2 separate regions of the Homo sapiens genome follow, and region 2 is linked to region 1. The links are contacts of gene promoters, found by promoter capture Hi-C in blood cells and fetal thymus (Javierre and others, 2016). All regions are on one chromosome and are shown on one strand. Each heading gives the region's core, a stretch centred on a gene start or on the middle of the fragment in contact. The rest is flanking DNA. Distances are from core to core; before and after follow the strand shown.

Region 1 (7,104 bases), core at 4,087-6,586:
TGAGCCAAGATCGCACCACTGCACTCCAGCCTGGATGACAGAGTGAGACTTCATCTCAAAAAAAAAAAAAAAAAAAAGCAAGTTTGTATATGCTACTAAATAAAGTCCTTAAAAAAAAAAAAGAATCAAAGAACAAGTAGTTACATTTGCATATGAAAGCAAAACAACTTAGTGCTATGTATCTTATTTAAATCAGCGCTGGCCAATAGAAATATAACGTAAGCCATAATTTTGTTATTTTCTGGTAGCCACATTAAGAAAAGAAACAGGAAAAAAACAATTGATCCTAACAATATATCTGAAATATTAGGTGAATGTGTAATCGATATAAAAATTATTCATGAGATCTTTTACATTCTTTTTTCTGGTACTAAGTCTTTGAAACCCACTGTGTATCTTATATTTACAGCACATCTCAATTTAGACTAGCCGCATGTGAGGTGGTCAATGGTCACATTTGGCTAGTGGCTACCATAGTATAGGGCATCACAAATTTAACAAAAAATTCAAAATCTGTAATTACAAGGTAACATGAATTGTTTTAGACAAAGTCAGGAGACATTATGATAAACCACAGTAATTTCACAAGTATCATTTAAAAATGTGAACAAAGAGGAACATGGGAAGAGGAGCCAGGATTGTGGGTAGTGGTCAGAGTTTCTTACAAAGTTTCATTTTGTAAAGATTATGTACTCATGTATTATTTGTGTAATTTTTAAAAATCAGTTTTAGAAAAATGTAAATTGATTACCATTCATTAGATCTACTATCAGAAGAAAGAAACTTGGCCGGGCGTGGTGGCTCATGTCTGTAATCCCAGCACTTTGGGAGGCTGAGGTGGGCGGATCACTTGAGCCCAGGAGTTTGAGACCAGCCTGGGCAACATGGTGAAACCCCGTCTACAAAAATACAAAAATTAGCCAGGCATGGTGGCACACACCTGTAGTCCCAGCTACTTGGGAGGCTGAGGTGGGAGGATCGCTTGACCCCAGGAGGCAGAGGTTGCAGTGAGACATGTTCATGCTATTGAACTCCAGCCTGAGCAACAGGTGAGCCAGTCTCAAAAAAAAAAAAAAAAAAAGAAAAAAGAAAGAAAACTCACAGGAGTGAGCACTTCTTATTTTGTGACTTCTACCCTGGAACTGAGCTAAGAGGGTATAACTTTTCAAAAGCATACTATAAAATTTGAGTATTAATGTAAGTATTATATAAAGCTTAGGCACCTCCTCTGAGGTAAGCATCAAATACCAGGATAACCAAGACAGAATGCACCTGCCCTAAAATAATTTGCAGATTAAAGGACAAACAAGAGGTAATTATGGTTAAGAACTGACAGGCCCAAGAAAGAACACAAAGGGACACTCAGCCCTGAGCAGGGCCCTGTCAGTCATGGCTTCCTTAACGAGGTGATACAAAACTGACTCCCTAAGGGACAAGGCAGTGAAATAAGGGTAAGAGGGAGGGTAGTCCAAGCACTGGAAACTGTAAGAGGCTCTATGTGGCTAAAGCCTTTAGAGATGCAGCTGAAGAGGGAAGATAAGGTTAAATTTCAAAGGACTGGCTAAGTAGTTTGGATTTTACACTGAAGGCAATGTGTAAGCACTGAAGGATTTTAAGGAAGTAAAAATTAAGCAAGTTTTAAAAAACTTGCTTATTTCCCTGTTTAAAAGATTCCAATGGTTTCCCATCACACAATAAAATCTCACTCCTTTTTCTAGCCTCCAAGGTGCTGAAGGATGTGGCCCTTGCCTACCCCTCCCTGTTTAACTCATACCACTCCCCTCTTTACTCCCTGTGCTCCAGCCTTCTTACTATCCTTTTAAAAGTAGGCTCATTCAGCCTTGGCATGGTGGCTGAGGTGGGTGCATCACTTGAGGTCAGGAGTTGGAGACAACCTGTGCAACATGGTAAAACCCCATCTTCACTAACAATATAAAAATTAGCTCGGTGGTGCAAGCCTGTAGTCCCAGCTACAGGAAAGGGAGGCTGAGACAGGAAAATCGCTTGAACCCGGGAGGCAGAGGTTGCAGTGAGCAGAGATCACGCCACTGGAGAGGGCGAGACTCCGTCTCAAAAAAAAAAAAAAAAAAGCAGGCTCATTCCCACTTATGGGCCTTTGTACTTCCTATTCCATCCCAGATTCACGTGACTAGCTTCTTTACACCATCAAATCTCCTCTAGTGGCTAATGCTGCTGCTCCTCAGAACCTCCTCCACATCCCACTGTTCCATTTAACATTTTAATAGCAACTATCACATTTGAAAATGTCTTACAACTACAAAGCAATCTCAAGTAGGAAAATCAGAGAAGGTGATTCTGAAATGACATCTAAATGAAACCATCCAGTGTTCAGATAGAAGGAACAGCAAACGATTAAAGGCAGGAACAGCCTTGGTATCCTGGAGAAACAAGGTCAGTATCACTAGAGTAAAGTAAGCAAAAGAGGGATAAAAGGTGATGAAGTCAGAGGCAGGCTGAGCCAGATTATGTAGAACCTTAGAGGCCTTGGTAAGGAGTTTGGATTTTATACTGATTTTAAGTGTGCTGGAATGTCAAAGGACGGTTTTGTGCAGGGGAACTTACAATATGACTAATAGATGAAAAATCACTTTACTGAGTGGAAAATCTATTATAAGTAGGTAAAAGTAGAAATGGAAAGATCAACTAAGGTTACTGTAATAGTTCAGGTAAGAAATTCTGGTGGTAGCAGTGGAGACAGTGAGAAGTGTTAGATTCTAGATGTATCTTAAACATATGGTTGTCAGAACTAACTTATGGATTATTAAGCGACAAGGGAAAAAAACCAAGGATGACTCCTAGGCTTTTGGTTGGCATATTTACGATAACACAGGAGAAGGAACAAATTCAAGGGCGCAGTAAATCAGGCGTTCTGCTTTGGATATGTTAATTTTCACTTCCCAGTGTGGATGTTGAGTAAGCAACCTAATATATATCTCCGATCTAGAAATATAAATTTGGGAGTTATCAGCATATGGATGACATTTAAAGCCATGAGATTAGGTAAGATTACTTGGGAAGACAGCACAGATTAAAAGAGGGCCAAGGACATAGACTGAAAGCACATGTGAAAATAGTTAAGAATGACTTCTAGATTTCCAGTTTGGAGAACTAAGTGAATATGGTGCCATGTACTGAGATATCTCTACTTCAATGAATAAGAGAAAAATAATTTTTTTAATTTAAAAAAAGAAAGCTTGTGAAAGCTAGGACATGTGGGGAATTTGTATTGGATATTCTGAACCTTAACTACACATAGGACACTCAGTGAAACTACCAGTATACAGTAAATATACAATTCTATAGAAGACATGATTTGGAGAAACATATTAGTAGTCATCAAATAGCAGATTATAGTTGAAGGCAGGAGAGTGGAAAGGTCATTTAGCAAGATTATGCAGAGCAGACTGCTAATAGCAAAAAAACAATAGGACAAAATTTATCTGAGGGACTGAGGAAGAGCAGCCCATAAATTAGAACACTAATATCTTTTTTTTTCAGTAGTCTAATTGCCATAGTCAATTAAGAGGAAACATTTTGGAAGAAAAGGCCTTGAAAGCTTGAATCTGAAACCTAGCTCTGTTATCTGCTAGCTGTGCCTTTGGTTCTTCAACTTCTCTGTCCCTTTTTCTTAAACAGTGGTAACACTTGTTTCATTCTATGTCATGGATATACTATGAAAATTGATTAGCTTTTTTGATTCAAGTAGTTGTAATGAAAAAGCCATGACAATTAAAAACTATTAGACAACTCTCTGTGGGTCAGTTTTTCTATTCTTTCTCTTGGAATAGCTACAAATAAATGAAAGGTAACATAAACTCTACTGATGAAACCGACTATATATAATCCAAGAACCAATTATTTTTATTAACAGGACTCACGGAGGAAGACAGAAGAGGGAAGAGAAGTATTAACCAGTTAATTCTACTTTAAAGCAAAGTGGCAAAAATATACTCAGCTTCACAATGAGCCTGAAAGATGAAATTTGTAAACCAACTTCCTACAATGATCACTTTTCTTCCTCTTCTTTTAGAGAGGTAGAGGTTATTTTATAAACTAAACACAAAGTATACTTGCCACAGATAAGTGGAAAAAATTCACACACTCAAAAATAGTGATGCAGTTACGACAAGAATGGTCCCTTCATTTATCCTTTTATTCATATATTGAGACTAGATTATTTGGATGGCCAACCAGTGGAAATGAACACAACTGCGCTGCAAAAAGAAAGAGAAGTAGCTATCCCATTGGCTTAATGTCAGCTTTGACTTTGTGTGGAAAGTTTTCAAACAGTTTAAGAAATTGGGAAGCAGTTATTCCAAATGATAATTTAACTGCGGTAGCAGCACAAGCTTATTTATTTCTTGTTCGCAGTAGTGTAGAATTAAAACAAACAAAGCAAAACAAGCTCTACCGAGTCTTTAGGCCTGGTTCAGGGAAGCCTGCCTGTGTATTGAAGAGGTGTGAGAGCCATCAACACCTCTCCCTCCTTGTGGTAAGATACTGGTTTTCATGAGGTTTACAGACAACATGCATTTGCAAATGAAATATTAAATTGTCTCCAAATTTTGGCAACACTCTGTGCACGCTGAGATTTTGTGGACCCAGGGGTCTATCTCTCCAATTTCTGACTAAAATAACGGATCGGGAACTGGACGATCAATACGAGGGAGGTCACATCTTCAGTATGTACTATGACTTCACTTCAAAGAAAAAAACTGCCTTTTCCAGCAAGTGATGTCACTTGCAGAAAATGAGAAGCGGTGATTTTCTTTCAAGGGCAGTTTGGGGACAAAATGTAAGGCTAAAAACCAATTCCTCCACGAGTGATCACAAAGAACAGAAACTGATGGGTCAAGTCCCTCGTCTAAGGAAAAAGATTTTCGAGAAGAAAATGAGTGTAGAAAAGTGACCAGAAAGCGATCAGCAGGGACTCTTCCTCCAGCTGCAGGAAGCAAACTCTCGATCGGGGTGAGTGGTAAACCAGGGCCGGCAGACGCCTCTCTCCCCCACGGACCGGCTTCCCGCAGGTTTGTGGCGACTGCCCCATGTGCTATCAACGGGCACTCTGAGGGAGAAGCGCCCAAATCAGCCACGGAGCATCTCCACAAGGGCCGCAGCGGGGGCTTAGGGGATCCCAGCCATAGCGCAGCAGGGGAGGGGAGAGCACGTGAAACCCAAGCCGGAATCAGCGGAGGAGGATGCAGGACCCAGGCTGGGCCTAGCCCTACCTGCCCAGCTCCCGCAGGGCGGGGATCATGGAAGCCAGCTCCAGGCCATGTTCCCCCATGCTGAGGCTGCGAGGCACTAGTCAACCACGCCAACGCGGGTTCCCGGCGTCTCCAAAGCTACCGCTGCCGGAAGAGCGCGGCGCCCGACGGAGCCGTGTGGAGGCCAAAACTCCTCCCGGAAGCCGCTACTGGCCCCGCTTGCCAGGCCCAGCGTCTTTTCTGCATAGGACCCGGGGGAAGCCGGGAAGCCGTTAGGGGGCGGGGCAAGCGGGCGGGCGTGCGTCGGTCAAGTTTCCCGGGTCGCGTCAGGCTTCTTTCTCAGCACCGAGCGAGCGACGTTCGTGAAGCTTTCGTTTTGAGCGGCCAGACTCTGCTGTTCTCAAGCCTGGGAGGCACAGAGAAGCAAGACTTCCGCATCGGGGGAGGATAGGGCTTGAGGGCCGCCAGCCCAGACTCGCTTCACAAATGTGAGAACTATGACAGTCCAGCGAGTAAAGGCCAAGAGTAAACTCCAGGTTTCCCCAGAGTAACGCTCTCACATTTTAAAAGTTCCTCACGTTCCCACCGCTCTTGTCCCTCTTTCTGAGAGATACAGGCCAAAAGGTGGGCTCTCCCTGTTTTTTTCCTTTTAAGCATTTTTTTTCAACTTGAAGTCACTGTTAGGTTTCGTTGAGGACCCTACCAACTTTTAATATTTGAAAATGGGGTTGGAATATATTTGTGTCTCATCAAATCAGCAACAGTACTGTGTGTGGAAATGCCACCATTACGGGCATCCGCAACCTGTGATTTAATTTTTAAAGTAAATCAATGGATTTTGGCAATACACATTTTCTAGCTCAACTCAATTTATTGGAAAGATGACCACCATAAGAGATTGTTGACATGTCAAAGTTATGTAGTTAATCACTCAAAGTCATGCAGTATGTTTACATTTGTTCTTTGGTACATGAGGATAGTTAACCGATACAGTATCTTAAAGAAAAAAGTGATGGAATGACAGCCAAATATGCTCTTGCCTCAAGAACTTTGCATTTGCTGTACTCTCTGCCTTGAACACCACTCTGTCATTGCCCTTTTTCCTTCAGGTGTTTGCCAAATTAACACCAAAGAGCCTCATATAGACTAACATATATACACATTCTGTCTCACCCTCTTTTTTTTGTTAGATACATTGTCTTACTCTGTTGTTCAGGTTCTAGTGCAATGAATGTTGCAATCATAGCTCACTGCAGCCTCAATCTCCCAGGCTCAAGCGATCCTCTCACCTCAGCCTGGGCTCAATTGATCCTCCTGCCTCAGCCTCCTGAGTAGCTGGGACTACAGACATGCCACCACGCCTGGCTAATTATTTTTTGTAGAGACAAGGTCTTGCTATGTTGCCCAGGCTGGTCTCAAACTCTTGGCCTCACACGCTCCTCCCACCTCAGCCTTCCAAAGTACTAGAATTAGAGGTGAGAGCCACCACACCCGGACATACTATATTATTGTCTCTCTCCAGTTAGAGTGTAAGCTCTTGGAGAGCAAGGTCTTGTCTATTTTGTTCACTCTCAGATACCCAGGACCTAAAACTGTGCCTGGCACATAGGTGGTGTTCAGTAAACATTTGTTGAATGAATCACTGAATGTTTTAGGAGAAAGGACATGGGATTGGGAGTTACAGGCCCTACACAAGTTCTCATTCCATCTGCTAGAAACTATATGACCTCAGTAAAGTTACTTAATCTCTTAATACTTCCATTTTTTCATTTATAAAATGGGATTAATAATGTCTACCTCACAAGATTACAGCAAAGATTAAATAAGAGGGGGTAAAGTCATAAAGTGGAATATAATTTCATAGTTAAAATGAATG
Region 2 (7,104 bases), core at 2,882-5,381, 1.1 Mb after region 1:
ACTGTCAAACTGAATCCAGCAGCACATCAAAAAGCTTATCCACCACGATCAAGTCAGCTTCATCCCTGGGATGCAAGGCTGGTCCAACATATGCAAAGCAATAAATGTAATCCATCATATAAACAGAACCAAAGACAAAAACCACATGATTATCTCAATAGATGCAGAAAAAGCCTTTGAAAAAATTCAACAGCCCTTCATGCTAAAAACTCTCAATAAACTAGGTATTGATGGGACATATCTCAAAATAATAAGAGCTATGTATGACAAACCCACAGCCAATATCATACTGAATCGGCAAAAACTGGAAGCATTCCCTCTGAAAACTGACACAAGACAGGGATGCCCTCTCTCACCACTCCTATTCAACATAGTGTTGGACGTTCTGGCAAAGGCAATCAGACAGGAGAAAGAAATAAAGGGTATTCAATTAGGAAAAGAGGAAATCAAATTGTCCCTGTTTGCAGATGACATGATTGTATATTTAGAAAACCCCATAGTCTCAGCATAAAATCTCCTTAAGCTGATAAGCAACTTCAGCAAAGTCTCAGGATACAAAATCAATGTGCAAAAATCACAAGCATTCTTATACACCAGTAACAGACAGAGAGCCAAAGCATGAGTGAACTCCCATTCACAACTGCTTCAAAGACAATAAAATACCTAGGAATCCAACTTACAAGGGATGTGAAGGACCTCTTCAAGGAGAAATACAAAACACTGCTCAACAAAATAAAAGAGGACACAAACAAATGGAAGAACATTCCATGCTCACGAATAGGAATCATCAATATCATGAAAATGGCCATACTGCCCAAGGTAATTTACAGATTCAATGCCATCCCCATCAAGCTACCAATGACTTTCTTCACAGAATTGGAAAAAACTACTTTAAAGTTCATATGGAACCAAAAAAGAGCCTGCATTGCCAAGACAATCCTAAGCCAAAAGAACAAAGCTGGAGGCATCATGCTACCTGACTTCAAACTATACTGCAAGGCTACAGTAACTAAAACAGCATGGTACTGGTACCAAAACAGAGATATAGACCAATGGAACAGAACAGAGCCCTCAGAAATAATACCACACATCTACAACCATCTGATCTTTGACAAACCTGACCAAAAAAGAAATGGGGAAAGGATTCCCTATTTAATAAAAGGTGCTGGGAAAACTGGCTAGCCATATGTAGAAAGCTGAAACTGGATCCCTTCCTTACACCTTATACAAAAATTAATTCAAGATGGATTAAAGACTTAAATGTTAGACTTAAAACCATAAAAACCCTCGAAGAAAACCTAGGCAATACCATTCAGGACATAGGCATGGGCAAGGACTTCATGTCTAAAACACCAAAAGCAATGGCAACAAAAGCCAAAATTGACAAATGGGATCTAATTAAACTAAAGAGCTTTTGCACAGCAAAAGAAACTACCATCAGAGTGAGCAGGCAACCTACAGAATGGGAGAAAATTTTTGCAATCTACCCATCTGACAAAGGGCTAATATCCAGAATCTACAAAGAACTTAAACAAATTTACAAGAAAAAAATCAAACAACCCCATGAAAAAGTGGGTGAATGATATGAACAGACACTTCTCAAAAGAAGACATTTATGCAGCCAAAAGACACATGAAAAAATGTTCATCATCACTGGCCATCAGAGAAATGTAAATCAAAACCACAATGAGAGAACATCTCATGCCAGTTATTATGGCGATCATTAAAAAGTCAGCAAACAACAGATGCCGGAGAGGATGTGGAGAAATAGGAACACTCTTACACTGTTGGTGGGAGTGTAAACTAGTTCAACCATTGTGGAAGACAATGTAGCGATTCCTCAAGGATCTAGAACCAGAAATACCATTTGACCCAGCAATCCCATTACTGGGTATATACCCAAAGGATTATAAATCATGCTGCCATAAAGACACATGCACACGTATGTTTATTGTGGCACTATTCACAATCGCAGACTTGGAACCAACCCAAATGTCCATCAATGATAGACTAGATTAAGGAAATGTGGCACATATACACCATGGAATTCTATGGAGCCATAAAAAAGGATGAGTTCATGTCCTTTGTAGGGACATGGATGAAGCTGGAAACCATCATTCTCAGCAAACTATCACAAGGACAGAAAACCAAACACCGCATGCTCTCACTCGTAGGTGGGAACTAAACAATGAGAACACTTGGACACAGGGTGGGGAACATCACACCCTGGGGCCTGTCGTGGGGTGGGGGGAGGGGGGAGGGATAGCATTAGGAGATATACCTAATGTAAATGACGAGTTAATGGGTGCAGCACACCAACATGGCGCATGTATACATATTTAACAATCCTGCACGTTGTGCACATGTACTGGAACTTAAAGTATAATAACAAAAAAAGTAAAAATAAAAAAAGAAAGTAGCATTTTAAAAAACCACCTCCCAATAAATAGCCTATAAACACTTTCACTTCCTTTTTTGAATAGAACTTTTTGGCTAAAAAGTTGATTATCACTGGTATTAGTTTGTTCATCTGCGCATTTGTCAATGCTTTTGATAGTTTCTGGAAAGCAATAGGCAATTAATTCTGTTTACTGAATAAATGAATTAACAAGTGAATGAATCTCTGAAGGTCACCCACCATGTGGTTAGCTCCTCGAGGATCAGAACAGCTCCTTTTCTCCTGTATTCTGCCCTCGTAATCAGGAACTTCTTTGCCCACTCACTGACCTGACAGAACTTGTTTCAAAAAGCTTTCTCCATTTCAGTGCAAAATAATAAATTGAACAACACAATTCCTTGTCTGTAGCACCCAGACAAAAGGTCAATTCTTGTCCTTTCTTGGCCGCTTTTCAAGAAATCCTGCCCAAGAGGCACCTGTGAGTCTTTATGGAACAAGAGGACCAAATCCCAGTCTGAGACTAGTGGCTGCTCTCCCATCCTAGGTACCTTTCTCTTAAGAAAGCACTCCCTTTTAGGGTTGTACAACTGCTGATCCTGCATTTACATAATCCAGAGAGTGAGTGCCTTCTTAAATTTTACTCCCTAGTTGCCTCACTCTTCCATGGTTTTGACCTCATCAACTTGGCTGAGTCCTAAAAAGAACCAGACAGCAAGGAAATACTCTCTAAGAATTACTGAATCCAATTTGTCTCAATGTACAATGTCTTCTTTAACACATAAATGGAATGTGTGGGCTGGACACTGACTTTCAAAACTTCCATCCTATACGTCTTTGAGCATTACTGAGAATAAACTGCTTTCATTTAAACGGAGACATTCTGTTCCCCAAAGCAGTGAGCCAGAGAGGTCTGTCAACCACAGCTGTTTCCCAGCTGTCCATGGAGCTGTTGAACTGCTTCAAACGGTTTTCAGTATGTTCTCGAAATTTCATCTTCAGAACACCTGGAGCCTTGCTTGATCCACTTTCAACATCCTGAAGCATTTATATAGTTGGTTGTTATCTATTATTGTGTCCAATTCTGTTCTGGAGGTGACTTTCCATAACTAGCTTCCAACTTCTGAAGCAAGACCTTTGTGCCAAGACCTTGCTATTTACAACTCTGTACTAAAGTAGAAAACAGTGGTTGGAAACTTGACTGTGATGTCAAACCAACCTGTGTTCTGATCAGACCCCAGCTGTTATGCAAATGAACTTGGTGATCTTGAGCAGGCTACTTAACCTCATTAAGCTTCAAGTAAGCTTCCTTGGTAAAATGGGGATAAAATAATCCCTTCTTCAGGTTTTTGGAGAATAATTAATTGGAGTTATTTATGCAAAATGTTTGGCATATTGTAAGTGCTTCATCAGTGGTGGTTACTGTATTGTTATTGTTCATGCCATCAAAACTATTAGTGGGTCAGTCCAGTATAAAATGGAATGACAGTTTCTACTTGTTTTCCTTTAACACTTAAAAATAACTTCAAATGAGAAAAAGTAGATATTATCAAGCAGAGAAATGTTAAAAACTCTTCTCTATCTCTCTTCCTTTCTCACAAATTACTCCCTTGAACTTCTGTATTTGGAAAGAACAGTTCCTATTCTGTGTCCATTTACTTTGTCTTTCTGAGTCTTAGGGTCTTCATCTAAAAATGAGGATGTTGAGCAAGATTGTCTTTAAGGGCCTTCCACATCTAAATTTCTATGGGTCTCACTCCAAACTCCAAACTGTAGTCTCCAGATGTGGAATGTGTATATTTTCCAAATCATGCGGATGGAGCCCTGATGCAGTGCTGGGATCAAGGGTGTGCTTTGCAGGGTTACAGAGCAGCATGTGCAATGGGCAGAACAATGTCAAGAAAAGTGATCATGAGTTTAACACTTCTCTGCATGAATGAGGGGAGGGCTGTCATAATTTCAAATGCATATGCCCTTGTTTTGACTGTGACTCTAAGGGTTACCAAGACAGGACACTCCAAAGAGTATCTGAGCCCAGGGAGACCTTGCTAATGTTCTGCAGGTGACGTCGTCTGTGGCCCTGGAGAGAAACATGGCTCATGGTTCTTCCAGCTGAGCTGTTATCTTCTTCATCTGGGCAAAATATTGGCTTGAGGTACAGGAGACCTTAAGCTTTCTCAGAGCCTTCTCCCCACCAGGTGGTACTCTGTGTTTACAAAGCTGCCTGGATTACCTCTGTCTTGTCTTTTAGACTACTGCCAGTTGTCGTATCTACCTCCCTCTTTAGACTGGGAGCATGCTGAGAGCAGAACCTGTGTCTGGTTTATTATCCCTTCCCTCAGTAGCTCCTACAGTGCCTATGACATAGCAGGCAATGAACAAATGTTTGTTAAATAAAATCAATTATAAAGTGGGAACTTGACTCTTGACTCTTGGATTTCATTTTCTTCCAAAGCTTGATTGGCACATCACTGTTCTATTTTGAGAAACAGCAATGGTGTAGGACAAAGAATATTGGACCTGATTTGTCTCCCATCTCTGCCACTTACGAGCCTTGTAAATGTACCACTTAAGTTTTTAGAACCTCTGTTGCTTGGAATGGAGATAATTGATCGGCTGTGGTGATGATCAAATTAGATGATATATTTGTACACATTTAGTTAATGGCTGCTATCACTAGATAACATACTCTCTAGTAGACGTATTCAGATGGAGCTTTTAATTTGCTGCCAATCCGTGGCTTTGGGTTGCTTCTACATATTGATTCAAGTACAGCCATTGCTTCAATAATTTTAAGCTGGCTGCAAGTTAGCAAAAGTCAGTTTTTTTTTCAGATAGATGTTAGTGTTTAGTATCTAGCAAAAACACAGTCTAGAAATCTAAGGAAACAGAATTCCTAGCTTCCATACCTATATTTCATTAACTTGCCGTGAAACCTTGAGATAATCTTAAAATTTGCTGCACCTCAATTATTTCACCTAAGAAATGGGTCTTCTCTACCCAAGAACACAATGTGAAAATAACTGAAATACTGTCTGTAGAAGCTCTTTGAGCTCTTTGAAAGAGTCAAACAATATAAATCAAAGCTGTTATTTTTATTTCTGAGTAAATTTGCTCAAGAATAGAATTGAGGTTTATATGATGGAGTTTTACAGACATAGGTTTATGTAGAGGGTTTTAAACTGATGCTATTCCATTGTGCTTAACACTGAATTGTAAAGACACAGAAAATACAGCCAAGTACTGTTAAATGACACTGTGTGCAGGTTTGAAATGCAGATTGCATAGTAAAAATGGCTGATACGTCTGTGCTCTCTAGAAGCCTGCTGGCTTCAGTGGGAGGTACTCTGGTCTAACATCCTCTGACTCCCTCTGAGGTGTAATTTCTCCCCCCTTGGAATTCAATGAAAACATATGAATATCTCTTACTGCTTCTGTTCTCTCACAGCAATACCAATGCAATCTTTCTCTACCAAATATTAGATGCTAAAAGTAGAGTCATCCAACTTTCTTTATAGATGACAGAGCAAATAATTCAGGAACACAAACTTTATACTATATGAGAGCATTTTTTGCTGTTTATAATATGGCATAAAACCATCTTGATCTCTTCCTGCTTAGCCGATATTAAATGAATGTTGTCTTTGTTCTCTAAGCCAGCCCTGGTACTGAAGGAACTACTTTGTCAATTACATCTTAAATTTTTTTTTTGTCTGTGAATAGAAAATTATTCCGTTTTCTCTTGAATTCTTGTGTAGAATATTGATAACACCAGTGATGAGAAACCACAAGTGTAATATAGGCTAAAACTAAATGCAGAGGCAGAGAGGGCCAGAAGGTGAAAAAGAACAATATCCATGATTTTAAAAAGATGTGATCCAAACAAAAGAAATCAATGAAGAACACAATTAAATATTGAAACACAACAGTGATTAGAGAGCATGATCAGAGAAACTGAAGGAAAACAAAACTGAAAAATAAAAACTTTTCTGATTATGCCAATGTGAGTAATCTTTCTCCGGTGTTAGAAAAATTAAATATTTAAACCTGGAGTTCCACGATGAATGAAAAATATGAGAGACAGCCCAATTAAGTCATCCTTACTGAAGAGGCTTTTCTCCAAAAATAACAGTCCTGCTTTTAATTATAGGTTCTTGGGTCTGTTAATCAGCCATCTTCCTCAAGGCTAAGCTTGGTGCAAATAACAGAGAAGGATTCAGCAAAATGCCCTGTTTAATTAAAATGAATTTAATTAAAAATATTTTTATACACATGACCAATCACCATTATTTATGCAGATGTTCCCACATAAGTCTTTGAAAAGGCATTTCTCCCCCCAACCTTTAAAAAATATGCTGTGCTTCTACAAGAACTGCTATGAAATGAAAAGCACTATGACTGGTAGTTAATACCTATTTTTATCAAAACAGCAGTGCAGCTCACACATCACCTGAGCAGCCGTAACCATAGTAACCCCAAATAGAAAGGGGCTTCAGATTATCAACACCATCAAAGGTAAGATAGTTCATGTGCCTCTGCAATAGTTACACTACAGCAAACTTTAAAGGATAAAGGTGGCTTTTATTCCTACTACTTAAATGTTAAATGAAAATAATGACTTGCAAGTACAGTGTATAGAAATGCCTTTCATTTTGGAAGACTCTTATTTCCTCAAAGTGTTAATAATAGAAAAGATGAAAACTCAATGC

What was found. The method cuts DNA at HindIII sites, captures the fragments that hold promoters and counts their contacts. A CHiCAGO score of 5 or more calls a contact.
Region 2: a fragment that was not itself captured here is called in contact with the fragment with the promoter of ATR in region 1 in 1 of 17 cell types (total B cells); the score reaches 8.2 in total B cells.

The regions. Positions count from the first base shown.
Region 1 is chr3:142,573,397-142,580,500 of GRCh38, forward strand. ATR (ATR checkpoint kinase) reads right to left here and starts at 5,337. Exons shown (of 47, transcript NM_001184.4): 1 at 5,250-5,337. The coding sequence starts at 5,308. RefSeq lists enhancers at 5,128-5,287, 5,588-5,687. The HindIII fragment of the contact is 1,226 bases long and covers 4,369-5,594 here.
Region 2 is chr3:143,666,092-143,673,195 of GRCh38, forward strand. All of the region lies in intron 5 of SLC9A9 (solute carrier family 9 member A9), which reads right to left. Among named protein-coding and RNA genes, the nearest start is that of SLC9A9, 180 kb to the right of the region's middle. RefSeq lists an enhancer at 3,327-3,376. The HindIII fragment of the contact is 867 bases long and covers 3,699-4,565 here.